2 separate regions of the Homo sapiens genome follow, and region 1 is linked to region 2. Evidence: promoter capture Hi-C in human tissues and cell types (Jung and others, 2019). All regions are on one chromosome and are shown on one strand. The core of a region is centred on a gene start or on the middle of the fragment in contact, and the rest is flanking DNA. Distances in the headings are between cores, read along the strand shown.

What was found. Contacts are between HindIII fragments. The study calls those that stand out against the background at their distance.
Region 1: a fragment that was not itself captured here is called in contact with the fragment with the promoter of E2F2 in region 2 in 1 of the 25 tissues and cell types used here (bladder).

What each region holds. Positions count from the first base shown.
Region 1 is chr1:23,385,600-23,393,242 of GRCh38, forward strand. TCEA3 (transcription elongation factor A3) reads right to left here. Exons shown (of 11, transcript NM_003196.3): 9 at 1,674-1,820. Among named protein-coding and RNA genes, the nearest start is that of ZNF436, 20 kb to the left of the region's middle. The HindIII fragment of the contact is 6,654 bases long and covers 1-4,625 here.
Region 2 is chr1:23,525,786-23,532,901 of GRCh38, forward strand. It overlaps E2F2 (E2F transcription factor 2), which reads right to left and starts at 5,448. Exons shown (of 7, transcript NM_004091.4): 1 at 4,757-5,448. The coding sequence starts at 5,008. LOC101928163 (a long non-coding RNA gene) reads left to right here. Exons shown (of 3, transcript NR_110799.1): 2 at 1,145-1,285; 3 at 1,620-2,634. RefSeq lists silencers at 2,502-2,698, 4,854-5,002, 5,540-5,679 and an enhancer at 2,717-2,846. The HindIII fragment of the contact is 9,154 bases long and covers 1-7,116 here.

The DNA of each region.
Region 1 (7,643 bases), core at 49-2,548, 140 kb before region 2:
TAAATGGTGTGTGCCGAACAGACGGAGAACTCTGAATAGAGTTCTAGAATGACTAGACACCAGTTAGAATCCAAGGATATTTGTGCTCTAAGGGCATACCATGTGCAACCCAGAAAGAGGAGGCCATTCTCTGGTTTTAAGAGAAGGGGCCTCCACAGCCTTCCCAAGTTCCCCATGCCAGGGCAATGGTCTTCAACTTTAGGACTCAGAGCTAAAGCCCTTAGGCTTTATTGACCAAGTTAGCTGGATTGCAGGCAGAATGGTGTGGATCTTGTTTATTACTACCTCTGACATTGGCCTCCTTTCTTGGGCAAGGCTAAAAAGCCCATCTGTGGCCTGTGTGGGCCTCAGTTTCCCTGGGTGTGTAATGAGGGAGCTGGGTTTCACATTGCCAAGTTCCCTTCCAACTGTCTATGACTCTTCAGCCGCCATGAGTCTGATTCTTCTTATTGTCACGTCAGGGCAGACCAGAACACACTGACCAAGCCTCGTAGACACATAGCAGGGATGATTCTAAACTCAGAGGAACATTGTCTAGAAGCCACAGGTGCACCACATTAGTGTACCAAGGCTTGCCCTTCTCTCTGCAGCCTGGAGAGTTTTTAAGGTTTTCTTTGTTTTGTTGAGTCAGGGTCTCATTCTGTCACCCAGGCTGGAGTGCAGTGGTGCAATCATAGCTCATTGCAGCCTCAATTCACTGTAGCCTCAACCTCCTGGGCTCCAGTGATTCTCCTGCCTCATCGCCACCCATTTCCCCCGCATCCAGTAGCTGGGACTACAGGCACACACTACCAAGCCTGGCTAATTTTTGTATTTTTAGCAGAGATGACGTTTCACCACGTTGCCCAGGCTGCTCTCAAACTCCTAGGCTCAAGCAATCTGCCTGCCTCGGCCTCCCAAAGTGCTGGGATTACAGGCGTGAGCCACTGAGCTGGCCCAGCCTAGAGAGGTTTTCTTTTTGTTGTTTGTTTGGTTTGAGACAGAGTCTCCCTCTGTCGCCCAGGCTGGAGTACAGTGGTGCAATCTCGGCTCACTGCAGCCTCCACCTCCCAGGTTCCAGTGATTCTCCTGCCTCAGCCTCCAGGGTAGCTGGGATTACAGGCACGTGCCACCATGCCTGGCTAATTTTTTTTTTCTTTCAGATGGAGTCTCACTCTGTCGCCCAAGCTGGAGTGCAGTGGCATGATCTCGGTTCACTGCAAGCTCCACCTCCCGGGTTCACGCCATTCTCCTGCCTCAGCCTCCTGAGTAGCTGGGACTACAGGTGCCCGCCACCACACCCTGCTAATTTTTTGAATTTTTAGCAGAGACGGGGTTTCACCGTGTTTGCCAGGATGGTCTCAATCTCCTGACCTCGTGATCCGCCCGTCTTGGCCTCCCAAAGTGCTGGGATTATAGGCGTGAGCCACCGCGCCCGGCATTTTTGTATTTTTAGTAGAGATGGGGTTTCACTGTGTTGGCCAGGCTGGTCTCAAACTCCTGGCCTCAGGTGATCCACTCGCCTTGGCCTCCCAAAGTGCTGTGATTACAGACATGAGCCACCGCACCCGGCAAAGCCTAGAGAGTTTTAACGCTTTCTCCCCTCTGGCTCTTCCCTAAGCTTCTCTCTGATTTTCCACCTCTATGCCCCTGCGGCCTCCTGCACCTCCGGCCCGTCCCCTCACTGTCCTTACCTGGTTATAGGTGCAGTTCTTCTTCTTGCATTTGCTGCACTGGAAGAGGTCAGTGGTGGTGCCGCCAGTCTTGGCCATCTGGTGCTCACGGATGGCCTCCTGGGTCATGGCATTCCTCAACTCCCTCAGTTCATCACTGGCCATTTCCTGGAGAAAAAAGAGTCTACCCTTCAGGGCTGAGGAGTTTCAGGGGCCCTGCCCTACACCCGGTTTCTAGAAAGCCTGAACAGAAAAGGAGGTAACATGCTTTATTGACTGCAAGGAGCTGGAAGGAGGCCTGGATTCCGGGTCCTGCCCCAGCTGGGAGAAAGCTGTCCCCGCAGAGTCCTCCTGCCGCCCACGGCTGGAAGGTCATAATGCACATTCAGGTGAGCAGCAGGCAAACAGCCTCTGCCCGAGGACGAGCACTCCTGTGTACATTTCTTCAGATCTGGGGCTCATCCTGCCTGCCAGGACCTTGGCCTTGGCCTGAACCTTCCTGCTTGAGCTGACTTGATCACTGCCACCTGGTCTATGATGTTCCCCTTAGCCTTCCTCTCTAGACTTGACCCAGTGCTCTTTTACGCTGTGATCACTGCCCTGCTGTTCTGCTTAGTGGGAACCTTGGCGCAACTACCCATGACTTGCTGCTGCTACCCCCATCCTGAAGCTCCTGGGCTCACACAACTAACTGTTCATCTGATGAGCATGCATCCAAGATCATCTTTTTCTGAGAGTTTCTACAGAAGAGTCTCCAGTCTCCCACCAGCTCACAGTAGACACTCCGGGTCTGCATCACCCACACCTTTGCTTTCTCTGTCCATCTCCCTGGCCACTTGTCTCCCCTTAAGCCTCTGCCAGAGGACAGCAGAGAGGGAGCTCCAGTTAAGGGTTGGTGGAAGGGGAAGGAGGGTGGCTGACGCGAATCTCAAAATGAGGATTTTAAACTTTTTTTTTTTTTTTTTGAGATGGAGTCTCGCTCTGTCACCAGGCTGAAGTGCAGTGGTGCGATCTCGGCTCACTGCAACCTCCACCTCCTGGGTTCAAGCGATTCTCCTGCCTCAGCCTCCCGAGTAGCTGGGACTACAGGCTCATGCCACCACACCCAGCTAATTTTTGTATTTTTAGTAGAGACGGGGTTTCACCATATTGGCCAGGATGGTCTCGATCTCCTGACCTTGTGATCCACCCACCTCATCCTTCCAAAGTGCTGGGATTACAGGTATGAACCACTATGCCTGGCTTAAACATTTTAATTGTTGCTGTCTGTCCTGAGTCCTTAAACCATGGAGAAGAATGCTGGCATAAAGGTCAAAGCATTTTAGTGTGCTCACCTTTCATTATAACCACTTAGGCTTCTTGATAAAATGCAGATTCCTATGAATCTGAATTGCTAAGGGCAGGCCCAGGAATATGCATTTTTTAAAGTTCTTTATTTGGTTATTTTTGGGACAGGATCTTGCTGTCACCTAGGCTGGAGTGCAGTGGTGCGATCGTGACTCATGGCAGCCTCAACCTCCCCAGGCTCAAACGATTCTCCCACCTCAGCCTCCCAAGTAGCTGGGACTACACCCAGCATGCACCACCAAACCTGGTTAATTATTTTTTGTATATTTTTGTAGAGATGGGGTTTTCCCATGTTGCCTAGGCTGGTCTCCTGAGCTCAAGTGATCTGCCTACTTTGGACTCCCGAAGTGCCGGGATTACAGGCATGAGCCACTGCGCCTGGCCAGAATATGCATTTTCACTAGTGTCCTCAAGTTATTCTGGTACGTATTAATGTTTAAGTCCTAGTGTGTTAAATTCAAAGGCTAGGCCCTAACCAATGGCAGGAGAATATAGAAAAACAAGTCAATGAAAGCCATTTACCCATATGAGTAAAAAGTAGCTGACTTTAATTTGAGGGGATTTTCCAGAGCATAAAGCATTTGCCCATTCAAAATTTATTGGATGTGGCCAGGTGCAGTGGCTTACACCTGTAATCTCAGCACTTTGGGAGGCTGGGACAGGTGGATCACCTGAGGTCAGGAGTTGGAGACCAGCCAGGTCAACATGGTGAAACCCCATCTGTACTAAAAATACAAAAAATTAGCTGGGTGTGGTGGCGGGCACCTGTAATCCCAGCTACTTGGAAGGCTGAAGCAGGACAATTGCTTGAACCTGGGAGGTTTAAGTTGCAGTGAGCTGAGACTGCACCATTGCACTCCCGCCTGGGCAACAACAGCGAGATTCCATCAAAAAAAAAAAAAAAGCCAGGCATTGGTGGTGCATGCCTGTAATCTCAGCTATTTAGGAGGCTGAGGCAGGAGAATCGCTTGAACCTGGGAGGTGGAGGGTGCAGTGAGCCGAGATCACGTCACTGCACTCCAGCCTGGGTGACAGAGTGAGACTCCGTCTCAAAAAACAAAAACAAAATCTATTGGATGCCAATTTACTGAATGCCTTTAACTGTATCAGTTTGCAGGTAAACCAGCTTTGGTTGTGGGGATGCCTTGATTTGTAGTGTTTGTCAGCTTCCATGGGACAAAATGCTATGGTCAATGGGACAAAATTCCATGGCCAATTTCAAGCTGCTAATGTGATATAACTGAACGCAGAGTTGGGAAGAGCTACACATCACCAGCTCCCTTGAGCTGGTAGGAGCTAGCTCAAGCATGCTACTGCCTCTGAGTCCAACGGATTCAGAAAGGAAGATCTGGTTCCTCCTCCCAAGTAGTGCTAATCTGATAGGGTAGCCAAGCATTTACACGAGATTGCAAGAGAGGGAAGGAAGTACTAAAGTGAAGGCATATAAGGTGCAGGGGAAAGCAACAGGGTATGGTGGTTAACTGTTTGGGGTCTGGTGGGTCATGAAGAAGCTAGTACTTTAACCAGTCTTGAAAGATAGGAGTTCCTGGGGTGGGTGGTGGCACATTCCAGACAAATAAAACAGCAGGGCCGGGCGCAGTGGCTCACACATGTAATCCCAGCACTTCAGGAAGCCGAGGCGGGCAGATCACCTGAGGTCAGGAGTTTGAGACCAACCTGGCCAACATGGCGAAACTTCGTCTCTACTAAAAATAGAAAAATTAGCCAGGCATGGTTACATGGTTACAGGTGCATGCCTGCAGTCCTAACTACTTGGGAGGCTGAGGCAGGAGAATCTCTTGAACCTGGGAGGTGGAGGTTGCAGTGAGCTGAGATTATGCCATTGCACTCCAGCCTGGGTGACAGCCAGACTCCATCTCAAAAGAAAAAACAAAAAACAAAAAACAGCAGGCACAAAAGATCAGAGGACAAGAATAGCATGTTTGGGGAAAAGTATTTGGGGTAGGTTCAAGTCAAGCATGGGAGATGTGGCTGGAGGTCAGATTGTGGAAGGAAGGTCTTGTGTGCCAGCTAAGAAATAGAGAACAGAAAAATCTATCCAGCCACACGCCAATTCATTGACTTCTCTGCCCTGCCTCATTAGAATGAGGCAGCATCAGAGACACGGAGAATAAATACAACACTGTAGAAAATAAGGTGGAAAATGAAGGAAATGAGAGTCAGAGACCACAATTCTATCCCTATTTGTTGAGCCCTGTGATGTACCAGACACTGTTGTCAGTGCTGGGTGGACTGTGAATGCCGGTTCTCAGGGGACTGACAGGATGCTATGTCCACTCAGCAGCGCTCATGGGTATCTCAGAGCCTACTCCATTCTTTGCTATGTCTGAGTAGGGAAGAAAAGAGAAGAAGAAAGAATGAGGGAGTCAGGTAAACAAGGAAAGAGGCATAAAAAGGGAGTCAGGGAAGGGAGTTCTGAGAGAGACACCGTCCACATGGGTTCCTGATGGGCGCTTCCCCTCACAGCAGGCAGCCCAAGCCCAAGCTAAGATTTTTCTGTTTTTTTTTCTTTTTTTCTTTCTTTCTTTCTTTTTTTTTTTTTTTTTTGAGATGGAGGATCTCAGCTCACTGCAACCTCTGCCTCCTGGGTTCAAGCGATTCTCCTGCCTCAGCCTCCCGAGTAGCTGGGACTACAGGTGTGTGCCACCACGCCCGGCTAATTTTTGTATTTTTAGTAGAGACAGGGTTTTGCCATCTTGAACTCCTGAGCTCAGGAGTTCTGCCCACCTCGGCCTCCCAAAGTGCTGGGATTACAGGCATGAGCCACCTCACGTGGCCTGTTGAAATCCTAACCCCAAGGCAATGGTTATTAGGGGGTCTTTGGGAGGTGATTAGCTCTCAAGGGCAGAGCTCTGGTGCAGGGGATTAGTGCTCCTCTAATAGGGGCCTGAGAAAGACCCCTCCACCATGTGAGGTTACAGTGAGAAGATGGCTGTCTATGAGGAAGCAGGCCCTCACTAGACACTGAATCTGCTGCTGCCCTGATGTTGGACTGTCCAATCTCTAGAAATGTGAGAACTAGGCCAGGTGTCATGGTTCACGCCTGTAATCCCAGCACTTTGGGAGGCTGAGGCAGGTGGATTATCTGAGGTCAGGAGTTTGAGACCAGCCTGGCCAACATGGTGAAATCCCATCTCTACTAAAAATACAAAAATTAGCCGGGCATGGTGGCACACCCCTGTAATCCCAGCTACTCGGGAGGCTGAGGCAGTAGAATCGCTTGAACCTGGGAGGTGGAGGCTGCAGTGAGCCCAGATTGTGCCACTACACTCCAGCCTGGGCAAAAGAGTGGACTCCATCTCAAAAAAACAAGCAAACAAAAAAAAAGAAATGTGAGGAATAAATGCCTGTTGTTTATAAACTACCCAGGCGATGTTCGTTATAGCAGTCTGAACTGACGAAAGACACACTGTAAAGCCAAGTTGCAATTTATAACTCCAGGCATATGTTGCTATTTACCCAAAAAGATCAGATATTTTAAATTAGGCAGAAAGATAACCCTGGTCTACCTGTGCCAAGTTCCCCATTTCATCCTAAAGCCAAGGCTCTTTGCTGTTTGTTTTGGGTGTTTGAGGAAAGCAGTGAACCCTCTCCTCAGAAGAATGTACATACACACACTACATAACACAGACACACACTTCCACATGCCACACATACACAAACCACACATGCCACACATATGCTAATCACACACCACACACATACTTCACATGACATCATACACACACACTCCACACATCATACACACACACTCCACACATCATACACAAAACACACTCCACACATCATCATGCACAATACACACACACTCCACACATCATGCACAATACACACACACTCCACACATCATACACACCACACACTCCACACATCACACACTCACACTCCATACATCATACACACATATTCCACACATCATACACGCCACATACACTCCACACATCAGACACACACACTCCACACATCATACACACACACTCCACACATCATACACACACACACACACTCCACACATCATACACACACACTCCACACATCATACACACCACACACACTCCACACATCACACACACACACTCCACATATCATACATGCCACACACATATACTATACACCAAACACACCTCACACATCATACACACCACACACACACCCACTCCACACATACACAGCCCCCACACTCCACACATCATATATACCAGTGGTCCCCAACATTTTTGGCGCCAGGGACTGGTTTCCTGGAAGACAGTTTTTCCATGGACAGGGTGGGGGATGGTTTCAGGATGATTCAAGTACATTACATTTATTGTGCACTTTATTTCTATTATTATTACAGTGTGATATATATAATGAAATAATTATCCAACTCACCATAATGTAGAATTAGTGGGAGCCCTGAGATCCCTTGTTTTCCTGCAACTAGATGGTTCCCACTTGGGGTGCTGGGAGACAGTGACAGATCATCAGGCATTAGATTCTCATGAGAAGCATGCAACTTGGTTTCCTCGAATGCACAGTTCACAATAGGGTTCGTGCTCCTATGAGAATCTAATGCCGTCACTGATCTGACAGGAGGCGGAGCTCAGGCAGTAATGCGAGTGATGGGGAGAGGCTGTAAATACA
Region 2 (7,116 bases), core at 4,198-6,697:
TTCCTTCATACATCCTTCTGGGGGTCATCGAGCCCATTTCTTTCCTCTTTCCAACTCTGGATCCCCCAGACACCCCTACCCTGGCTTGGACAGAGAGGCCTATTTTAACATTTAGTGGTGAGGTCATGCTCAGCAGGGCTGAGACTTCTAACTGCTGCTGAGCACAGCTGGGCTGACAGGTGTTGGAGGTGGTGACAGCTCTTCCTGCTGTCAGTTCCCCTTCCCCCACTCCTGCCCCCTCCAGGAAGTCTTCCTGGGCTGATGTGAGGAGCCCTGCTCCTTGGTTTGAGGAGCCTGGATATAACACTCTTGCTTTCCACCACTACCGAGACCTGGAAACCATCCAAACACTTTACTGCTCATTCTTGAATGAGTCTCTTGAATATTCCTTTTCTACCTTCCTAACTGGTGAAATCCTATATTCTAGAGATTTAGCCCCATGCTGTCACTAGAGAAAGGGCCAGTCACTGGCTGAGACCTTCCACATGCCCTGAACCACGCCCCAACATTCATCACTTCACTGAATCTTCCCATACCACTAATCCCCATTGTACAGCTGAAGTAATTGAGGCTTGGGGAGCTCCGAGGCCTCCATCAATCCTGACCAAGGCTGCACATCCTAGTATTCTTCATATATCCCCCAGCAGGAGCACCAAGGGCAGGGAGAGGAAGGGAAGCTCAGGTGGAGTTCTACCTGAGGCAGAGGTGGGGCAGCCCAGAGCCTCCCCAGCCACACCTGTCTCCCCCGCCAGAACAAACCAGAAAGAATCCCAGGAAGACCTTGAACAGAATATCTATGCTGAGCCTGTTACATGCTCGTAACAGTCCTACCACATCAGTATTGGCACTGGCTCTCGGAAGCCAAAAAATGGAGACTTACAGAGAGTAAGCACATGCCCAAGGTCACACAAAGGCCGGAGCCAGGGTTTGAACCCAGGCCTGTCTGACTGCAAAGCCATGTACCAGGCTGCCTCAGCTGCATCCCACACACGCTGCCCCAGGATTTGCTAGAATTTGGGCCAAGGCCTGGGCTACGCCCACCTGCCCCCATCACTGCATGTACTTGCACACACACACACACACACACACACACACAGCCTTCTCTCTTTTCTCACTCTCCTTCACCCTTATTCTGCACTCCCAGGGTCCCAATGCGGCAAGTGTCCCCCTAAGGATACCTCCCTGACACCTTTGGACAGTGCCCAGAGGAAAGTCAGCCTATGGCTTGGGCTGAACCTGCAGAACACAGGTGGCAGAGGACAAGCCCAGGAGGATCAGCATCAAGGTGAGGCTGAGCACAGGTCTTGGAGTCAGACTGGCCTGGCTTTGCATCTAGGCCTTCCCCTTCTTAGCTGGGAAATCAGTTGACGTCAAGTCACCTATAAAATGGGCATCATTGTCTCCACCTATGCTGAGGATTCAGTGAGATAGTGCAGCAAAGCGCTTTGCCCATAGGGAGTGCCCCCACCAGGGAGCTGCTAGCACTGATGTATGGGGAGCACCAGTGGGAAAAGGGGAAAGTTCAAGGGTGAGCTGAAAAGAGACTGCGATGAGGGGAGGAGAGCAAAGGCTATGGCCACAGCCAGAGGCCAGCTTAGCCCTATCCTGGACGCTCTTAGGCAGCCCCTTTGGCTGGATCTTCAAGGCCTGGTCAGGACGCAAGCCCACCCTGCCAACCCCTATGGAGAAGAGTACAGCTCCTTCCTCAGGCAGCTGCAGAAGTGCAGAGGGTCAGAGATCACCAGGCACAACCCCCTTACGGGCACCACGGTGAGGAAACTGGGACTTGGGGAAGAGGAATTGACTTGCCCAAGGTCACGCAGAGTGGAGCCTGGTCTCTCCTAAGCCCTAAGTCAGATGGTGGGGGTAGGAGCAAATGTAAGGGGTCGAACCTTGCTTTCAGATCCCAGCTCTGCCACTTCGTAGCTGAACAGCCTGGGATTCACTGTCTTGCCTCTCTGAGCCTACACCTCCTCACCTGACCTGCCTTGTAGAGTTGTGTGTTAAAATGTTTATTTTCTTTCATGCCTCACAAGAGGAAATCTGGAAAATGTAGACAAATTGAAAGAAAAGGAGGACCGGGCGTGGTGGCTCACGCTTGTAATCCCAGCACTTTGGGAGGCCAAGGCGGGTGGATCACCTGAGGTCAGGAGTTCGAAGCTAGCCTGGCCAACATGGTGAAACCCCATCTCTACTAAAAATACAAAAAGTAATCCCAGCTACTTGGGAGGCTGAGACAGGAGAATCATTTGAACCTGGGAGGTGGAGTTTGCAGTGAGCAGAGATGGCGCTATTGCAAGCCAGCCTGGGCAGAGCTTCCTGCAGGCGTGAAAGAGAATGATGCCATGCGCCTGGCCAGAGGAGGCATGCGATAAAGGGGCATTCCCTGAGCCTTCCTCAGAGGACTTGGAAAGAGCTCTGGACAGGGAGCCAGGAGATCTGGGTTGTGGCCTTCATTCTGCCATTGAACTTGGTTGCCATCCTTGGACAGTGCCTGAGGTCCCTTTAAACAGAAGCTCCACAACAAATCCTGCTCACCCTGCACTTTGCAGCCCGGCCACAAAGCAAGCGGCCACACCCAGGGTTGGGTTTGGAGCTGTTCCAGGTCACGCCCTTGTAAAATGAGTAAGCAGAGGGCAGGCCTGCCCACGGGGCTGGGCCCCGGGCATCTGGGGATTGACAGGAGCGGGAGCTCTGGGCCTGGCAGGGCTTTAGGGTGGTCTGCTGCAAGGAGACTCCCCTGCTTCTTCACTTGTGACCCAGGCAAGTGACTTCCTTTCTTTGCTCAGTTTCCTTATCTGCAAGGTGCCTCATTCTGGACATCCTGACCAAGATAATGAACGTGAAGAGTGCCAAGCAGTGTCTGGCACACGAGAGGCACTCAGTAAAAGAGAGACCTTCTTGCTAAGATCACTGAGCCCTTCTGGGAGGGAGGTACAGACAGATGTACTTGGGCTCCTCTGGGAGGGTTCAAAGCAGTGTAAAACCACAGCTGTTACTGAAACTTCCAGTCTGAAAGCAGCTGGCCAGAGGAGAGTGGGCCTGCCGCAAAGCTCCCTTCCCTGGGGGGAGCTCAGCTCCTAAGTTAGGCAGTATTAAAAAAAGTCAAGGCTACATAGAGAAGAGCCTGCTGCCTGACCAGGTGCATTAGAGTAGCTAGCTCATGCCTGTAATCCCAGCACTTTGGGAGGCTGAGGCAAGAGGATTGCTTGAGCCCAGGAGTTTGAGACCAGCCTGGGGAACATAGGGAGACCCCTGTCTCTACAAAAAATAAAAAATAAAAGACAGAAGAGCTGACTGCCTTGTGAGTCCCATCACTCTACCCCATCCCCATCTCTGACCTTAGGTCACATCCCCTCTCTGAGCCTCAGTTTCCCCCTGTAACATGGAGCTATTAATGCCATCTATTTCACGAACTACAAAGATGTTTTAGGCTATAAAACACTGAACACAAGATACCCAATCCCAGTTATCCTCGGTTGCTTAACCTGTAAAATGGGGATAATACCATTCCTGCCCACTGCCCTCCTAGTTAGAAATCATGTGCAGGAAGGGTCTCCAGGAAGGTTAACGTTTTGAACATGGGCAAAGCCTGAGTCCACTGGCAGGGAGTGGTGGCTCTGCCTGCATCCAGAGCTGGCTGGGCATCCGTGCTTGCTGACTAGCACAGGTCTGACCAGATGCCTCTGGGGCAGTGGGGGGTGGTCTTATCCCTGTACCCGAACTTATTCACCAAACTCACAACTAAGCAAACCTACAACACCCCCTTCCTCTCCCTGGAGCCTGCTTCCAAAACCCAGGACCTGGAGCTGAATGTGGCTGAGAAGAGCTAGCCCCACAGCCACCCTGTGCACACACGCATTGTGAAGGAGAGAACACTGAAGCCCAGACTGGGTCCAAGACTTGTCCAAGGACACACAGAGAATTAGTGGCAGAGTCACACCAGAAACCAGGCTCCTCAACCACCACCACCTCCACTCCCCCAGGCTTTTCCCACTCCACCCCCCACCCTAAAGTTGTTTTGATTCACACGGGCTCCAGGAATTCCACTCCCACAAAACACACCCTGAGCCCAGGTCAGCAGGCAGCCTGGTGCCACTACACTTTGGGCCCTCTCTGGCAACGAGCCTGGGAGCTTGAGGAGAGAGCAGCCAATCTGAACAGAACCCAAGGGGGCTGCCCACATTTGTATCTGCTACATGGCTGTCTGGGAGGGAAGACTGGGCCTGGGGGAGGACCTAGGGCAGATACTTGGGGCTATCTCAGGAGCTGGCTGGACAATTTGGAGTCTGTCCATGGCAGATTGGATGTGAGAGACCCACTAGACCTATCCCTCTGTCTTACCAAAGTCCCACAGTGTCCCCAGGCCATACTCTTTGCCTGGACAATAGCAGGCACCCAGTACTGGTTTCTGGCCAAACAATGAAGTAATGAATGAATGGCGGCAACGCTGGCTGCATGGACTTCCCCAAGGTCACACAGTGCACTGGGAGTAGTGAGTTGGGTCTCCCTCCAGACTCGCAATCCAGTGCTCATTCCACTCCACTAGAATGGATGAGATTATTTCATCCAAAGTCTGAAAATGAAGGGGTCTTCTACTCAGATATTGGGGGCACTGGGTCCTGGAAACTGAAAGCTCATCTTCCCTCTTCCCAAAACTCTACCTGCTCCACTCAAACTGGATCTCAGGCACCCCTCCCTCCTTTCCCACACCTGGAAAAGCATAGGGGGAAGCGGTGGGGGCCCCCAGCATTACCGGCAGCCGGCCTGCCGGCAGGCATCGCACAACTTGGCCCTCGGGTCCGTGGGGAGTGGCGTCGAGGCAGGTGCCTGGCGCCGCTGCGGGAGGCGCCGTCTGCGGGTACAGCGGTGTGTAGTAGGTAGCAGTAGCTGGGCAGAGCTGGGGGCTGCTGAGGCCGGATGGCCACAGCTCTGTGGGGCTCATCGCGGGCACCACCTTCGGGGTCTGCCCAGCGGCCGAAGCCAAGGCCCGGGGCCCTTGCAGCATAGCGAGTAAGGCGCCCCCTACCCAAAAGGGCTTGGCGCGCCCGCGGACACCTGCGGGTTCCGGTGCTGCCGCCTTTCACACGGCCCGCGGCATGGCGCGGAGGCCGGGGGAAGCCGCCAATGGACGCCTGCGGGGCAAGGCCGGACCCTCCCCTCCTGGCCCGCGGCCGAGCAGAGAGCAGCGCTTAGAGATCGCCGCTTGGAGATCGCCCGGCGGCTGCGGTGGTGGCACTGCCAGGGGCTGTCTCGTCCCGAGGGCACCGCGACCCGGGACGCCCCGCGCTCCCCAAGGCCTCGGCACCTGGGGTCCGGCCGGCTCTGGGGAGGGGTCCCCGGCGTGCCCTCAAGCTCGGCGGAGACGCGATGCGCTGGGATGGGGAGGGGGGTCTCGACTGCACCGACTTCCTTGCGGCTCGCTCTCTAGTCCTTGAGTCTTTCTCTGCCTCTTTTTTTTCTTCTTTTTTTTTTTTTTTTAGCGCCAAACGTCGTGCCGCGAAATTCGGATCTCCCGCGGAAAATGCCGCGCTCCGGTTGGCTGCTGCGACAGTACAGGCTCCACCCCCCCCCCCCCCCCCGGAAAGAACGCGTCCTCGAGGCGGCGATTGCAACACTAGCTTCGCTGCTTAAAGGGGCAGCCACACCTGCTGTTGGTGCCGCCAGCCGCCGGCCGCGCTAGTTAGCAGCCGGCGAGACGGAGACAGAGGGTGGTTCCGGGATTCACAGTGCAGAGGCGGCCAGAGCAGTGCACAGCGCCCCGAGAAATGGGCCCGGATTCCCTGGGATTGAAGGGAAACATTTTGGCGCGGGGTCCCAGCCTGAGCCCAGACCCAGCAGTGTATTCCCCAGGCCACAGGCCCTTTTGTTAGTTTGCATTGTTGCTTAGCTAGCACATGTGCATTCATATCCCCTTTCCTGCTAAAATGAAGGCCAGGAACCTGTTCCCTTTAATGGCAGAGGGGTGAGGGACGGAGGCAAACTAGTCTACTTCTTTGTAGGGAAAACTAACATCTATTCAGCGCCTACAGGATGCCAGGCACCATGCTAGATCCTTACAAGCGTTGTTTTAGTTAATTTATTCCAACAATCCTGGGAAGAGGAATGATGATCCCCATGATAAAGACTGACAGTCTGAAAGGCTGGGTAACTTGCCCAAGGTCATACAGAGAGATTCCCTGATTTGAGAGCTGGCAACAGAATCTGGGACAGGTCCCAGCTCTGGAGCCCTTGTTTTTCCAGTTAAGGGGTTCTTCTACTCTCCCAAGCTGCCTGGGGGCACAGCAGGGTCAGAGTCCCACTGCAGAGCTTTGTCTTGTTCACAGTTGTATTATTAGGACCCAATACTCAGTAAATGTTTGAACATCTCTAGGTTTCTTTTAAACAATCCTTTTGTCACAAGAGCCTCTCTGCCTCATTCAAAAACCTTCATTGCTGATAATACATTCCTCATCACTCCGGTTTAGAGAGGCTCAGAGAAGCAAACTTGGGTAGTGAGTGGTAAAAAGTTGCTAGAAGCTGCTGCTAGATTTCAGGTCTGATTTCTTGCCTGGTGCTGTGTGATTTTTATGCAAGTCTGAGCCTTGGCATTCAAAGCCCTCCAGAGACAGTCCACAGCTTAATTCCTCATTAGATGGTTGAGGCCAAGGTGGCAATAACCCATGATGATTAAGAGCCCAGGCTTTGTAGCCAACAGCCCCGAATTCAAACCCAGGCCCAGACACTTTATTATTCATTGTGTGACCAAGGCAAATTTTGTAAATTCTCTGATCCTTGATCCTTGATTTTCTCCTCCTAATAGCACTTACCTCATATGATCATGAGGAAATCTCATGAGATAATGCATATAAAGCTTTCATCACAGAACCTGGATCATAAGGAGCCTCAAGAATTGGCAGCTGTTGTTATATCTCTGACTTTTTTTTTTTAGACAGAGTCTCACTCTGTCACCAGGTTGGAGTGCAGCGGTGCAATTCTCCTGCCTCAGGTTCAAGTGAGTCTCCTGCCTCAGCCTCCCGAGTAGCTGGGATTACAGGCGCCAGCCACCATGCCTGGCTAATTTTTGTATTTTCAGTAGAGGCAGGGTTTCACCATGTTGGCCACGCTGGTCTCGGA